3 separate regions of the Homo sapiens genome follow, and regions 1 and 3 are each linked to region 2. The links are contacts of gene promoters, found by promoter capture Hi-C in blood cells and fetal thymus (Javierre and others, 2016). All regions are on one chromosome and are shown on one strand. Each heading gives the region's core, a stretch centred on a gene start or on the middle of the fragment in contact. The rest is flanking DNA. Distances are from core to core; before and after follow the strand shown. Region 1 has its middle 19 kb from the start of GFI1. Region 2 holds the start of GLMN (glomulin, FKBP associated protein). Region 3 has its middle 19 kb from the start of GFI1.

Region 1 (4,886 bases), core at 2,118-4,617, 210 kb before region 2:
CAGTAATTTTTTTTTTTTTTTTTTTTTTTTTTTTTTTTTTTTTTTGAGATGGAGTTTCACTCATGTTGCCCAGGCTGGGGTGCAATGGCAAGATCTCGGCTCACTGCAACCTCCTCCTGGGTTCAAATGATTCTCCTGCCTCAGCCTCCTGAGTAGCTGGGATTACAAGCATGCGCCACCACACCCGGCAATTTTGTATTTTTAGTAGAGACGGGGTTTCTCCATGTTGGTCAGGCTGGTCTCGAACTCCCGACCTCAGGTGATCCGCCCGCCTCAGCCTCCCAAAGTGCTGGGATTTCAGTCGTGAGCCACCACGCCCGGCCCAGTAAATATTTTTTAATTTAATGAAAGACCATCTTTAGTGAAAGATGTCTAGGTTTGTTTCCTTCAGGAACATGGTAATTTTTTGGAAATCTCAATAGCAGTATTTTCATCTCACATTGTACTTTAGGTTATTAATTAGCAACTAATTCAATAAATACATTCAATTATATATAATTTGAGTACACATATAGCTACTATCATAAAAGGAAAGTTATACCTTCTGCATCTTTATCACAATGTTAATGTCATTTAGTTCACAAGCAAGAGCTTACTATATATTCTGCTTTATTCCCAACAGGAATTAAGGTACGTTTTGTAGATACCTGAAATATGACAAGCTATATAATCCAGGGAGTCTCCACTTTGTCACTGACATTTGGAAGTAGCCAAATAATTCTGTTTTGGGAGGCCCTGTACATTGTAGGATGTTTTGCAGCATCCCTGGCCTCTACCCAGTAGATGCCAGTAACACCCCCTCCTTTAGTTGGGACAACCCAAAATGTCTCCAAACATGGGCAAATGTCACCAGCAGGAAGGACAGAGAATGAAAATCACTGCTAGTTGAGAACCACTGCTATAAATTTAGAATTGGGTCATAAAAAGAGCCACTCGGGCCAAACATAAGAATATATACATCATTTGGGGTTTTGTAAATGGCAGAGCAGCTCCCTCACTGCAATCTATTGAAAGTCAGCCCTTGACACAAGGGTTTGTAAAATACAAAAACATAAACTACACACACACACACACACACACACACACACACACACACACACACACACCAGCCAGGTACCGTGATTCATGCCTGTAATCCCAACACTTGGGGAAGATGACATGGGAGGATCCCTTGAGGCCAGGAGTTGGAGACCAGTCTGGGCAAGATAGCAAGCCCCAGTCTCTTTAAAAAAAAAATTATATGTATATATTTATACACATACACACACACACATATATATATACACACACCCCTATTAAAGATGCATCACAAATTTGACTCTGTTTCCAGTAAGTGAAAAAAGTAGTATCTGAACCACAACGAGGTACCATTTTACACACCTATTAGGATGGCTATTTAAAAAATGAAAATATGCCCTGTGAAAACCCGGGAGCTCAAAAGAAAAAAAAAAACCGTTGGCAAAATATGTGGAAAAACTGGAACCCTTGTACATTGCTGCTGGGAGTGGAAAATGGTGTAGCCTCTGTGAGAAACAGTTCAGTGGTCTTTAAAAATGTTAATTGTAGAATTACCATGTAACCCAGCAATTCCACTTCTAGACATATACTCAAAGCAGTAACTCAGATACTTGTACATCAATGTTCACAGCAGCATTACTCATGATAGCCAACATGTGGGAACAACCCATATGACCAACAGGTGAATGGATAAGTAAAATGTGGTATATACTACATATACAACGGAATACTATTCAGCCATAAAAAAGTAAAAGTATAATGCTACAAAATAGATGAACCTTGAAAACATGCTAAGTAAAATAAGCCAGACACATAGTATGGTTCCACTTATATGAGATATCTAGAACAGGCAAATTCATAGAGACAGAAATAGAGTAGACATTACCCAGCAGTGGAGGTGAGGGAAGAGAGTTAACGGCATAATGAATACAGAACTTTTGTTTGGAATGCTGGAAAAGTTTTGGAGATGGATAGTGGTCATGGCTGCATGACACTGATTGTACTTAATGCCACTGAGTTGTGCATTTAAAAATGGTTAAAATGATAAAAAAAAAAAATACTAGGCATGTTAAGAATTTAGCATCAGCCAGGCATGGTGGCTCATGCCTGTAATCCCAACACTTTGGGAGGCCAAGACAGGAGGATCACTTGAGCCCAGGAGTTCAAGACCAGCCTGAGCAACATAGCAAGACCCCATCTCAAAAGAAATAAAGAACTTAAAGTCAACTTATTTACTAAAGATATTCAAATAAAGATATTTAGAAGGAAAAAAAGTAAAACCTGCGGTTATAAAATTTGCAGCGCCCATGAAATAAGAAAATGTTTAGGCGTAAAATTCTAGCACTAGAGCACTAGACTGGGACTCAAGCTTTGTATTGATTAATCCTGGACAAACAACAAAAAATTATGACCTCCTTGCTGATCCATGGACACACCAGACTCCCATCAGGACCCTGCCCTTCCTAGGATGCTCAGCTAAATACCACAAGGCAGCTCCCCACCTCCACCAGGTCTCTGCTCAACCTGCACAGGAGGCCTTTTCTGATCCTTCCGTTGAAAAAGCCTCTTCCTAGCTTTACTTTTCTCCATAGCAGTGATTACAGTCTGACATCCTACCCATTTTACATATTTGTTGGTTTATTGTTTATCTCCACACCAGAATGCAAGCTTTATGAGTGCAGAGATTTTTATCTCTATCCCAGCAGTGCCTTGGCTCTCAATAAATATTTGTTGAATGAATGCATGAATAACTGAAGAAGTCATTTTACCTCAATGTCTTCATTATTGAAACGAGGTAAACATCTGTGAAATACAAATATCAGTAGAAAGTCCAGGATTCCAATGCAGCCAGCCTAGCTCCAGAGTCCTCTAATTACACAATATTGCTTTGGCACAAGGCACAGATCAGTCACTGTTGAGGAAGCAAAGATGAACCAGACCAACTCCTACCCTCATGCATGGGGCAAGAGATACAGGAGAACAGAAGCACTGCCGTGGGAATTCAGAGGTTACCTTCAACTTGGGGGAGGGGCTTATTTTGCGTCCCTACCCCCTCCCTGCCCATTCCCCACCCTGTGTACAGGATGGTGCCCGTGACCCTGCCACAACCTTTATGTACCACGCCCCATTCTCTCCTACCCTATGACCTGCTCAGAGGTGACCTGCTGATGTCACCTAACTGGGTCTATAGCTGCATCTCTCCTGCACTCCAGATTTTACCAAGAATGTCTGAAAATGAGCATCTTAAACCAGGCCCAGAGAACTTTTTAACTCCTCCTGAACTGACTGTCAGTTCACTGTGTCCACGGTGAGATCAGAAGGCTGCTGTGTCCTCACTCCCCTGTTGCCTACGGTTGGCCACCTTTTCAGAGACCACATAGCGTCTTCTCTGAGGCTGTCCTCAGTTACAGGAGAAAGCAGGGTCAGGTGGAAAGAAACTGGTTGGCTTTAAAGATGTTGTTTCTCTGATTTTTTTTTAAAGGAAATGCATACTGTACACATGAGAGACTCCAAGGCTGAGATGCTGTGGCAGTTGAGATGCACCTGGGAGCTCCTAACTGTTCCCTGCCTCTGCCTCAGAGGGCGGGACGGCAGCCATTGCACACCACCCCCTCCACAGCAAACCAGTCAAGCCTTGTCTCTCCCCCCCACCAAGGGGCTCTTCCCCTCCAGCAGAGGCTTTCCTAGTCTCTGGTGTCACCTATGCCCTTCCTGTCCCAGGACAGGAACAGATACACCCCGTTGGTGCTTGCTGTACTTCTACATTCAAGGCACAATTTTGTGTGTCCCTGCCTAACCTCAACCAGGATGACTTCGTCGTGGGTAGAAGAGATGACATCTTATTCATCAGCCTGCTTTGTCACTTTTGTATGTCTCAAGGTCCAGCATCTGTCCTTGTGCCTGTCACTGGAGTGCAGAATTAGACTAACCATGCTCCATTTACAAAGAGAGAGTTTTAAAACCTTTAGCACATGAATGAATATTTGTCTCTGCAGCCTCCTTACCACCAAATACTCTTAAGGTCAAGCTTCGGCTTCCCAGGAGTCCGTGAGCCATTTCCCTCTCCCAGCTCCCTCGGCCCGGCTGAATTCGTGCCAGAACTACAAAAGCAAGCTGCCGGGTGAAGTGGTAGAAAACCAAAGCATGGGAGTCATGATGTTAAGCACAAATTTTTAAAGAACAATTTCATGCATTTCCACTTGTTAACTCTTAGTCCATTCAGAGGCTGAAGGCAGGTCCAGCTCTGCCCTTTTCTGGCAAGCTGCCTTCTAGTTGTGCTGTGGAGGGATGTTCCTGGTGGGCAGCTCCCCAGGCCAGTGCTGGGATTTGAGTAATCACAGGCCCAAGTAGGGTGTGTGGGAAGGTGTGCTGTTTGGTCTGGCTCACAGCCGCTGACACTCTGCAGCTATTTTAAACGGATCCCACAACCTTTCATTTGCTTCACTAATTTCTCTAAAATAGAATTGTTTATTTGTGGGTGAAAATTGGAGACGTTTCTTGTTCATCACCAAACTGCTCTTTGGTGAGACTGGAGACAATGCGTGTACTGGAGCCTAAAGGGTTTGGCACATAGTAAGTGTTCAATCAACAGCAGCTGCTGTTGTTAGCTGAGTTCCCTGAGAAAGATTGTGCATGGCATCTCTGAATTCCCCAGAACCAGTACAGCCTGCTTGGTAAGGAGTTATTGATGTGAATGTTCCTTCTGACTTGACTTCTCATCTGTGTCCTCTGTCCACATGGTATCTCCACATGTTTGCCATGTGTGGCACATTGGAAGTATTGTTTGAGGTGATTGCACAACAGTCTCTACTTTCTGATTGCTAGTAGTGGTAATGATAATAGTAGTTATTATTATACAGTAATATCCT
Region 2 (5,013 bases), core at 2,461-4,960:
ACGGGAGGCGGAGCTTGCAGTGAGCAGAGATCCCGCCACTGCACTCCAGCCTGGGCGACAGAGTGAGGCTCCGTCTCAAAAAAAAAAAAAAAAAAAAAAAAAAAAATTTAATGCGGAATTTAATTCTCCCGTTTTATGTTGAGTCATAAATGAGCTGTATTTCAGGTTTTTGAAATAAGAAAATTGATGAAATTACATTGACAAAAATAATATTCTTCTGTTACTTAAAATAACACAACACAGAATATAGAAAACTGGAATTGCAATCATTAGAACAAATTGAAGAAAATCAAGTGATATTAGCAGACTGGTTAAAAGAACTATGACTAAGGGTAAAATATATTTGCTTTTTCTTTTTTTTTTTTTCTCCCCCATCCTCATTTTTCTTTTTTCCCATTTATTATTTATATACTTATTTTGAGACAGAGTCTCACTCTTGTTGCCCAGACTGGAGTGCAGTGGTGTGATCTCAGCTCACTGCAACGTCTGCCTCCTGAGTTCAAGTGATTCTCATGCCTCAGCCTCCTGAGCAGCTGGGATTACAGGCATGAGCCACACCTGGCTAATTTTGTATTTTTAGTAGAAACGAGGTTTCACCATGTTGGCCAGGCTGGTCTCGAACTCCTGACCTCAAGTGATCCGCCTGCCTTAGCCTCCCAAAGTGCTGGGATTACATGAGCCATTGTGCCTGGCCTCTTTTGCTTTTTAATTGACAATAATAATTGTATATATTTGTGGGGTAGTATGTGATGTTTTAACACATGTATACATTGAGCAAATCAGGCTAATTAACATATCTATCACCTCACATATTTATCATTTCTTTGTGGTGAGAACATTTGAAATCCACTCTTATTAATTTTGAAATATACATTACGTGTCATCACCTTGTTACGTACTTATTTTTCATTAGTGCATTTTAAAGTCATTATACAAGGAATGCATGATAGTTGTTTATTTTTAAATGCATGAATTATATGGATTGTTATCTGCATCTAATGACTCAGAACAAATTCAAAGATTCTAATAATGCAAAGAAGTTTCATGCTGCACAGATTTAAAGATGTTATACTACAAAACTAATAATTTGTCAACTTAACACATACACACTCCATTAGGAACTCTTCTGTAATATTCTCCTCTAAAAGCTGTTCAACAATATGTAGAGCTTTTCTCTCAAATTCAATCTTCTTTCTCACAGCTGCTTCTAGTTCAGCTTTCCTAAAATTTGAAAGAGAAACTTAATCTACTTAAAAGCTTCATGTCCAACATTCCATGTTTTAAAATACAATACTAACCTAACTCACTATTTTGCCACTTAAATTTAAATATATTTAAAAAATTTTTTGAATAAAAATATTTATTTCTTTTTAATTGTAGAGACAAGGTCTCACTATGTTGCTCAAACTGGTCTCGAGCTCCTGGCCTCAAGCAACACTCCCACCTCAGCCTCCCAAAGTGCTGGGATCACCGGCATAAGCCACCACATCCGGCCAAATTTCTGTTTTCTAATGCTGTTACTTTTGATCCAATACTTTTCAAAAAGGAAACAAGCTACTTTTTGCACTGCACATACATAAGTCTTTATATACTCTTTGTATGGTTAATGTCTACTTAGCACGCAGGTCTCAGCATAAGGCTTTCGCTGAAAACTCACAGCCAACCTCCCTGCCACCCACCTCCAACTAAATTAGACTTCGTTATTCCTTCTCGTAACATCACAGTCTTTTCCTTCATAGTGCTTATCACAATTTGTAATTATGTATTTGTTTATGTTAATTAACTAATTAATTTATTATTATTTATTCCTCTGTTCCACTAGGCAAGAACTGTGTCTATTCTGTTCACCATATCTTCAGAGCCTAACACAGGTCCGACATATCTTATACTCAATAAATAATTTTTGAAAGAATGAGTAAATTAAGACCAAAGCCAATATAAGATTAGTGAGTCTTCACAAAATAAAAATCATAGCTACATATGCTTTTAATCCCCTTCACATTCTACTCCTCTTCTAGAAACTCTGTGTGATATGTGGTAATATCTTGCCTTTTTAGAACCAGAACTAGTACAAGACAGCTTTTTAATGAAAATCTGGACTTGATGTAACAAAGAACAGAAAAGGTTTCTTGGAGTGACAGCGAAACTTGGAGAGTGAGTCTCTGGCATATAAAGCAATAAAAGGAGAGTGTACCTGAAGCGGTGAAAAACAAACACCTTCTACAGACACTCATTCCTTCACTAGCAGTCTGAGTGCTTAGTTTGGTTTTCTTAAAGCCTGGAGTAGAGGAATGTAACAGTCTATGTGAGAATTTATAGGCCTTCCCAGATCTTTCCCTTCCCTCTCATGATAATTTTCTCTAAAAAAAAAAAGGTAACCATTATTGTTTTAAAATTGGTACAAGTAATACAAGATAAGTAGATATGCCAATGTAGTTGTCCATGTAGCTGTCATACCTTTTAGAAGCATCTTCTTGTTTCAAAGTACTTGTCTGTTTAGTACCTACAATAAAAATACAGTCATGTGCTACATAATGACATTTCCGTAAACGACGGACAGCATACAGACAGCGGTCTCATAAGATTAAAATACTGTATTTTTACTGTACCTTTTCTATGTTTAGATATACAGTTGCCTACAGTACTTAGTACAGTAACATGCTGTGCAGGTTTGTAGCCTGGGAGCAATAGGCTGTACCATATAGCCTAGTGTGTAAGTAGGCTGTACCATCTAGGTTTGTGTAAGTGCACTCGATGATGGTCACACAAGGATGAAATCGACTAACAACTTATTTCTCAAAATGCATCCCCGCAGTTAAGCTACACATGGTGGCAGTAGGTCAGGTCTACACAAACACATTAGGTACAAGATAGATTCCTACACAAATAACAAACTGTAGACCACCTTTTCTTCTTTTCCACATATTTTATGTCCAATCGTGTGTAAATCAAAATGAAATAGGAAGGGAGAGCAATTTGTTTTTGCAAATTGATTACTGTCTAATTTTTCTTGGTTAAAATGTATCTCTTTGGGGATTGAATTTTCTTCTGTATCATAGTTGCTTAATTAACCACTCCTGAAAATCTGAGATCTGGGTACTTTTAGGGGAAACCTCTCTCCGTCTGCCAAACGTCCTCTCTGGGGGAAGAGGGGAGTCCGGCACCTTAAAGAACTGGGCACCCAAGCAATCTGGAAAGGAGGACCGGTCCTAGGTTCAAGGCCAGCTGCCAACGCTGCCCTAGTCACTTGCCCCGAAACCCGGGGACCCCAGGCCTGGGTTCCCGGGGCCTCCACTGTCCTTTGTCTCAGAGGCTGGGGCCACAGTCCGCGTGAGGGAAATCTTGGAACACTGGCGTAAAGGGGTGAGGGGCGGCCAGGAAATCTTTCCCAGGAGGTGCGGACGGCGGTGGGAAGCTTTCGGCCTACTCTACCTGGGAGAACCCCTCCCCTGAAGCAGCCTTTCAGGAGCGCCCGCGCGCTGCGGTCTATAACTCGAGATCGGGGCCCAGCTTTCAGGGTCCAAAAGTGGGAAGAGATCCTTGCTCCTACCTGCGGCTTTTCGAGAGCAGCGGGGAGCCCCGGCCTTGCGGCCGGCAGAAGACGGCCCAGCGAAGTCCGCCATGGGGGAGAGTAGTCTGCCGGACGGGGACACGCTCCGGCGTCTCGCCCCGAGGCCCCGCCTCCCTACGCGTAGCGCGGGGCGGGGCCAGAAGAGCGGGCTAAGACGCCGGAGGAGGTGGCGGCGGCTGGGAGAGGCGAGGGTTCTGGCCGGTAAGTGGAGTTGTGGAGAGGTTCAGGGTGGCCAGGGCTCGCGGTTGGCCGTGAGCCGCGGCGGACTTGGTGCTGCGGGCCGACTAGGCCACGCGAGGTGGTGGAGCCTGCCCACCTAGGCGAGCAGGAATCGGAAGACATGGCTTCCTCTGATGCAGCCCGCACGCGCGCTGGGGTGTTCACTCGCCTTCCAGCGCGCTGCCCTGAGGACCGGGCTGACTCGCGCCCCTACTGAGGGCTTGGGGCCGAGCCTTGCCGCCAGGAGAAGCGATGGTCTCCTCCTGAAGGCCGCCGTTGTCTTGTCTCCGTGTGATACAGTGATTTCACTAGCTGGATTGATCACTTTGGGGACTGCAACTCCTAGAGAGAAATGGAATGGAGGGCATCTGAATCTTCACCCCCTATAGATAAGCTTGTGTTGCACCCCAATTTTTGTGAGGTGAGACATTAAAAATGAAAAATCCCCTGATGATTAGAATTTTGATTTCAGGTCCACCTTTTGGAAATTTTTTTTCAGAAAAGAAGTGCTTTGCTTTTTAAAAGCCCTTTAGTTCGTATATGCCTCGCCTCTTGGGAGTGCTCGAGAGGTTTTTTTTGTTTTTTTTTCCTTCAAAGTAGCTTTCAAAACTATGCTCCTAGAAAACTTAAAACATGCAATAAGGGCTTCTAAAAAAACACTTTATTTTCTTAGGCAAACATACTAAGATTCAGTAATAACATTTCAACTTTAAAACTTTACATTTTCTCCTAGCATGCTATTGGACCAAAAAACACAACAACAAAAACTTTCCATTTTCTTTATTGTATTTACTAATAATTTATCACACTGAAACATAACTTTTGAATACTTAAGTGTAATATCACGGATAGTTAACAGTGTGTTTTGTATTTGTAGATTTTAGCATCGAAACTAGGAGAAATAAGAATGGCTGTAGAGGAACTTCAGTCTATAATAAAGAGATGTGTAAGTATTAATTTTTGTAAAATTAAATACCTTTCAAAATATGGGAAGGGCACAGATTGTTTTTAATTATATTTGTGGTCACTCAAATTGTTTATCTTCTTTAATCCTTGCTTTTTTTGACCTGTAAAGAGCATGAGTGGGGGAGGCAGATTGGATTATTTCTCCAGGTGACATACTTATCTAAATAACCTTTTACATTTTAATCCTGATCCTTTTCATAGATTTCACTGGTACAGTAGATTTCAAGGTCACTTATTAAAGTATTTATTAGGGTAAT
Region 3 (4,757 bases), core at 836-3,335, 170 kb before region 2:
TTTCATTCTTTCCATCTTATTATTGCCTCACTGCACTGGCCAGGGCTATACTGAATAGGGGCTGAATAATAGTCATCTTTGTCTTATTCCCTTATTCCAGGGAAATATTTTTAGTTTTTCACAACTTCATGTGATGTTTTTGGTAGGTTTTTGGTAGATAACTTGTTAAAAATGAGATTAGGAATTTCTGTTTCTATTTGGTAAGAATTTCCACTTGTGTATGTGTGTTTTTAATCAATGGGTATTTAATTATTTTTGTGTGATTTTTCTGCATCTATTGAGAGAATAAATATATTTTTAATCTTTTATCCTTTGTCAACATGCAAATTATATTTATAATTTTCTCTAATGTTTTAAATTATCCTTGTATTATTTGGGGAAAAAACCCCCACCTAGAGGGAATAAATTCCAACTTAGTCATTTAAACAACATTGCTGATTTGGTTTGCTGACCTTTACTTAGGATTTTTGCATTATACTTACTAGTGAAATTGGCTTATAATTTTTATTTCTTATGCTGCCCAAGGTTTAACATGTTTCAAAATGAACAGGGTAACATTTCTTCTTCTTCTGTTTTCTGGATCAATTTGTGAAGGACTGGAATTATATGTTCTCTGAATGTTTGATAGAACTCACCTGGGATTTTTTTGATGAAGGCTAGCAAAGAGGAGGGTATATTTAAGTTTTAGTTACTATAGGTCTATTCAGGTTTTTAATTTTTTCTTAAATATGCTGTATCATGGCTGGGCACGGTGGCTCATGCCTGTAATCCCAGCACTTTGGGAGGCCGAGACGGCTGGATCACGAGGTCAGGAGTTCGAGACCATCCTGGCTAACATGGTGAAACCCTGTCTCTACTAAAAATACAAAAAAATTAGCCGGGCGTGGTGGCGGGCATCTGTGGTCCCAGCTACTTGGGAGGCTGAGGCGGGAGAATGGCATGAACCAGGGAGGTGGAGCTTGCAGTGAGCCGAGATCGCCCCACTGCATTCCAGCCTGGGTGACAGAGCAAGACTCCATCTCAAAAAAAAAATGCTGTATCATATATATATATCAGCATATTTATAAGTATCCAAATTAATTGCCACAGACATTTCATAGAGTTCTCTGATTTTTAAAAAATGTCTACTCCACCTATAATTATGTTCAATTTTTCTTTCTGATATTGTTCATTTGTACCTTTATCTTTTTTCTTTAATATTGCCAAAGGTCCCTATTTTATTAGTTTTTGCAGCATATTTTCATTGTCATTCATTTCTATATCTTATCTAACAATATTTCTTATTTGACAGATGTATTATTTAGAAGTACATTTAAAATTTCTAAACATCTCTGGCTTAGAGTTGCAAAATAAAATTCTAAACATGTTTTTTCAGTAATTTTTGTAAGTGATTTATAATTTAATTATATTTTGATCAGAGAACCTGACTTGCATAATATTAATTCTCTAATATTTGTTGAGATTTATTTTGTGGCCTTCTCCATGGTCAATTTTTATAGATAATGTGTGCTTGAAAAGAATGTATATATTCTAATTGCCAAGTGCAAGTTCCACTATGATTAAGCTTGTGATTATATTGTTCGAATTTTCTATATCCTAAATAATTTTGGTCTGCTTAATCAACCAATCACTGAGAGAGATAGGTTTTACTTTCTCATGGTGATTATTAAGTTATAAATTTTTCCTTTAAGTTCTTTTTTTTTTTTCCATGTGAGCTTGAGAAAAATCTCCTTTGAATTCTGTTAACTCTTTTTCTTTTACCTATTTTGAGGGTTGTTATTAGGTGCATAAAATTTTGAACTATTTCGTATTCCTGGTGAATTATTCCTTTTTTAATCATCATTCTATTGTACTCATTGCCTTTAGTTTTTTGTTTGGTTGGTTGGTTGTTTTTTTTTTAAGTTTTTTTTTTTCCTTAGAGACAGGGTTGCCTAGGCTGGAGTGCAGTGGTGCTATCTCGGCTCACTGCAGCCCTGACCTCCCTGGCTCAGGTGATTCTTCTACCTTAGCCTCCTGAGTGGCTGGGACCACAGGCACATACCACCACACCCTTCTAATTTTTGTAGTTTTTGTAGAGATGGGGTTGCACCATATTTCCCACACTGGTCTTGAGCTGCTGGCCTCAAGCAATCCATCTACCTTGGGCCTTCAAAATGCTGCGATTACAAGTGTGAGCCACTATGGCTGGCCTATTTTTACATGGTATTTTTAATGTCCTTTTATTTTTAATCTTTTTATGTTCTTATGCTTTAGGAATATATCTTTGTAAATAGCATTAATTCAATATTATTTACCTTTTTAAAGTCAGACATAAGTAAAATAAAATTTCCAATTGAAAATATAATTTCTGATACTGTTTCACTATATGTATGTGTGGTGTACATGTACCTGATCTTTTCATCTCTAAGCAACTTAATCTAATAGGAATCTGTTGCTGTTTTCTCATTTCCAATGAGCTTTTACTGATAAAAAAGAATTACACACACACACAGGAGAGAAAAGTACTCACTCTGCCCAAAACAATATGATGCTTACTGCTTTACTCTGCTAGTCCATTTTTTGGTATTCAAGGAAGGATTCTATCTTGCAAGGTTTTTTAAAGCTTGCATTTGTTTTAACTGTAAAGGAGACCCAAAAGCAGGAAGTTAGGTTTGTTTCTTGATGCTAGTTTTACAAACTTCATTGAGAAGTTTTTTAATTTTTGGTAAAGTAGGAAGCCTAGTTTCAATTCTGTCTTTTAACATGAATTAGACAATTTCCTAGGTTGCCCTTTCTGAGAAGAACTGATTGGCACGCCTTTATAAGATTTGCTGCAATAGCAGTTCTTCAGTTTTTCTTAGAGTAAGGAAAATCTGAGTGGATGCCTCTTGTGACTTTTTGGGAGAGCCAGAAACCATCCTTTCATTAACCTTTAGTAGAATTGTCTGTGTTTCACCTCTTGGATATACCTTCCCAGAGACATCACACAAACTCAACTTCCTCTTTCCCTGTACTAAAAACCACTGTTCATGGGACTCTAATAAACAAGAGTAACAGGTTCTTAACTGGGCTGAGGGAGTCCCACCACAGTGTAATATTTTTGCATGTCATCTTTGCATGGTTATTGTTTACATGATATATTTAGGTACTATATAAAATAACATAAAATAAAAAGTTTAAAATAAAGGTAGAACCAGATGACCTTCAAAACTCTTTCAATCCAGGAGCTGGGCATTGTGGCTCATGCCTGTAATTCCAGTGACTCGGGAGACTGAAGTGGGAGAATTCTTGAGGCAAAGAGTTCGTGACCGGCCTGGACAACATAATGAGACCTGGTCCCTGATATTTTTTTTTTTTTAATTCCCTGGGCAATAAAGTGAGACCCTGTCTCCAAACAAACAGACAAACAAACAAAAAAACCAGTGGGCAGTGAACTGGAAGACTCTTTGCAATCCAAATGCTAGTGTCAAAGGTTTAGCTGATTTGATTTCAGGGCACCCACAACACTTATTCTTTGTACATCACTAAGGACCCCCTGGGGTCTATATGGAGGTTTATTTTCCACTGGTCACTGTTGGTCCAAGACTGGCAGGTTCCAGGTGTGAGAAATGGATCTGAACTTTCCTAGGGAACCTTCTATTAGCTTGGAGAAGCAGAACTGTTTAGTTAAAAACTGCATTGAATTTGGAGGTCAGGAGATCCTTAAATATGGTATATTGATTACTTATCTGCATATAGTTCCAGTTCAAGACCAGGAGAAGACAAAGACAGATGTCCCAGATCAAGCAGTCAGACAGGCAAAGTTCCCTGTTAGCCTTTTTGTTCTGTTCAGATCTACAGTTGATTGGATGAGGCCCACCTACATTAGGGAAGGCAGTCTACTTTACTCAGTCTACTGATTTAAATGTTAATCTCATCCAGAAACACCCTCAGAGACATACCAAGCAAGAATGTTTAACCAACTTTCTGGGCACCTGAGGCCCAGTCAAACTGACACAAAAACTAACCATCATGGTCTCCAAATTGCCAGTATATTTATCAGAGTAAAGAGCACTAGTGCTGTAACGAATAACTCCAAAATTGCAGTAGCTTACATAATAAATAAATAATTAACATATCACAGTGAATTTGAGTGTGTTCAGGCTGCTTTCTTCACTGGTGATTGAGAGCTCCCAATTCCTTCTATCTTGCAATGCTGCCATCTTCCAGGGATTTCTTGTTCTCTTCTGCATTGTCTGCATTTAGCTGGCTGATGAATGAAGACAGAAGGTGTGTAGAGGATCATATGGGACCTTTGTAAAGCCAGACTGGGCAATGTATAGATTGCTTCTGTTCACTTTCCTTTGATCAGATCTCAACACAAAATCCCAACCTTGCTGCAAAGAATGCTGGGAAATGTAATTTTCCTTTCTGTTAAGGAAGAAAAAATGGTGAGCCTCTAGTGAGTCTTTTTTTTTTTTTTTTTTAAAGAGACAGGATCTTGTTTTGTCACCCAGGCTAGACTGGAATTACACCATTATGGCTCACTGCAGCCTCAACACCCTGGGCTCAAGCAGTCCCCCTGCTTCAGCCTCCCAAGTAACTAAGACTACAGATGTGCACCATCATCCCCCGCTAATTTTTTTATTTTTTGTAGAGACAGGGTCTCCTCTTACCCAGGCTGGCCTGGAGCTCCTGGCCTCAAGCAATCCTCCCACCTTGGCCTCTCAAAGTGCTGGGATTACAGGTGTGAGCCACCATGCCTGGTCCCTAGCTAGCTTTTAAACTTGGGGTTATCC

What was found. The method cuts DNA at HindIII sites, captures the fragments that hold promoters and counts their contacts. A CHiCAGO score of 5 or more calls a contact.
Region 1: a fragment that was not itself captured here is called in contact with the fragment with the promoter of GLMN in region 2 in 1 of 17 cell types (fetal thymus); the score reaches 6.8 in fetal thymus.
Region 3: a contact is called between a fragment that was not itself captured here and the fragment with the promoter of GLMN in region 2, in 1 of 17 cell types (fetal thymus). The highest score is 5.0, in fetal thymus.

The regions. Positions count from the first base shown.
Region 1 is chr1:92,503,323-92,508,208 of GRCh38, reverse strand. No RefSeq gene overlaps it. Among named protein-coding and RNA genes, the nearest start is that of GFI1, 19 kb to the right of the region's middle. RefSeq lists an enhancer at 3,618-3,807. The HindIII fragment of the contact is 1,360 bases long and covers 2,688-4,047 here.
Region 2 is chr1:92,297,684-92,302,696 of GRCh38, reverse strand. It overlaps GLMN (glomulin, FKBP associated protein), which reads left to right and starts at 3,710. Exons shown (of 19, transcript NM_053274.3): 1 at 3,710-3,772; 2 at 4,668-4,736. The coding sequence starts at 4,698. RPAP2 (RNA polymerase II associated protein 2) reads right to left here and starts at 3,638. Exons shown (of 13, transcript NM_024813.3): 1 at 3,551-3,638; 2 at 2,458-2,503; 3 at 1,107-1,221. The coding sequence starts at 3,623. RefSeq lists enhancers at 3,225-3,454, 3,675-4,144, 3,716-4,612 and a silencer at 3,876-4,213. The HindIII fragment of the contact is 769 bases long and covers 3,418-4,186 here.
Region 3 is chr1:92,465,119-92,469,875 of GRCh38, reverse strand. No RefSeq gene overlaps it. Among named protein-coding and RNA genes, the nearest start is that of GFI1, 19 kb to the left of the region's middle. The HindIII fragment of the contact is 1,038 bases long and covers 1,567-2,604 here.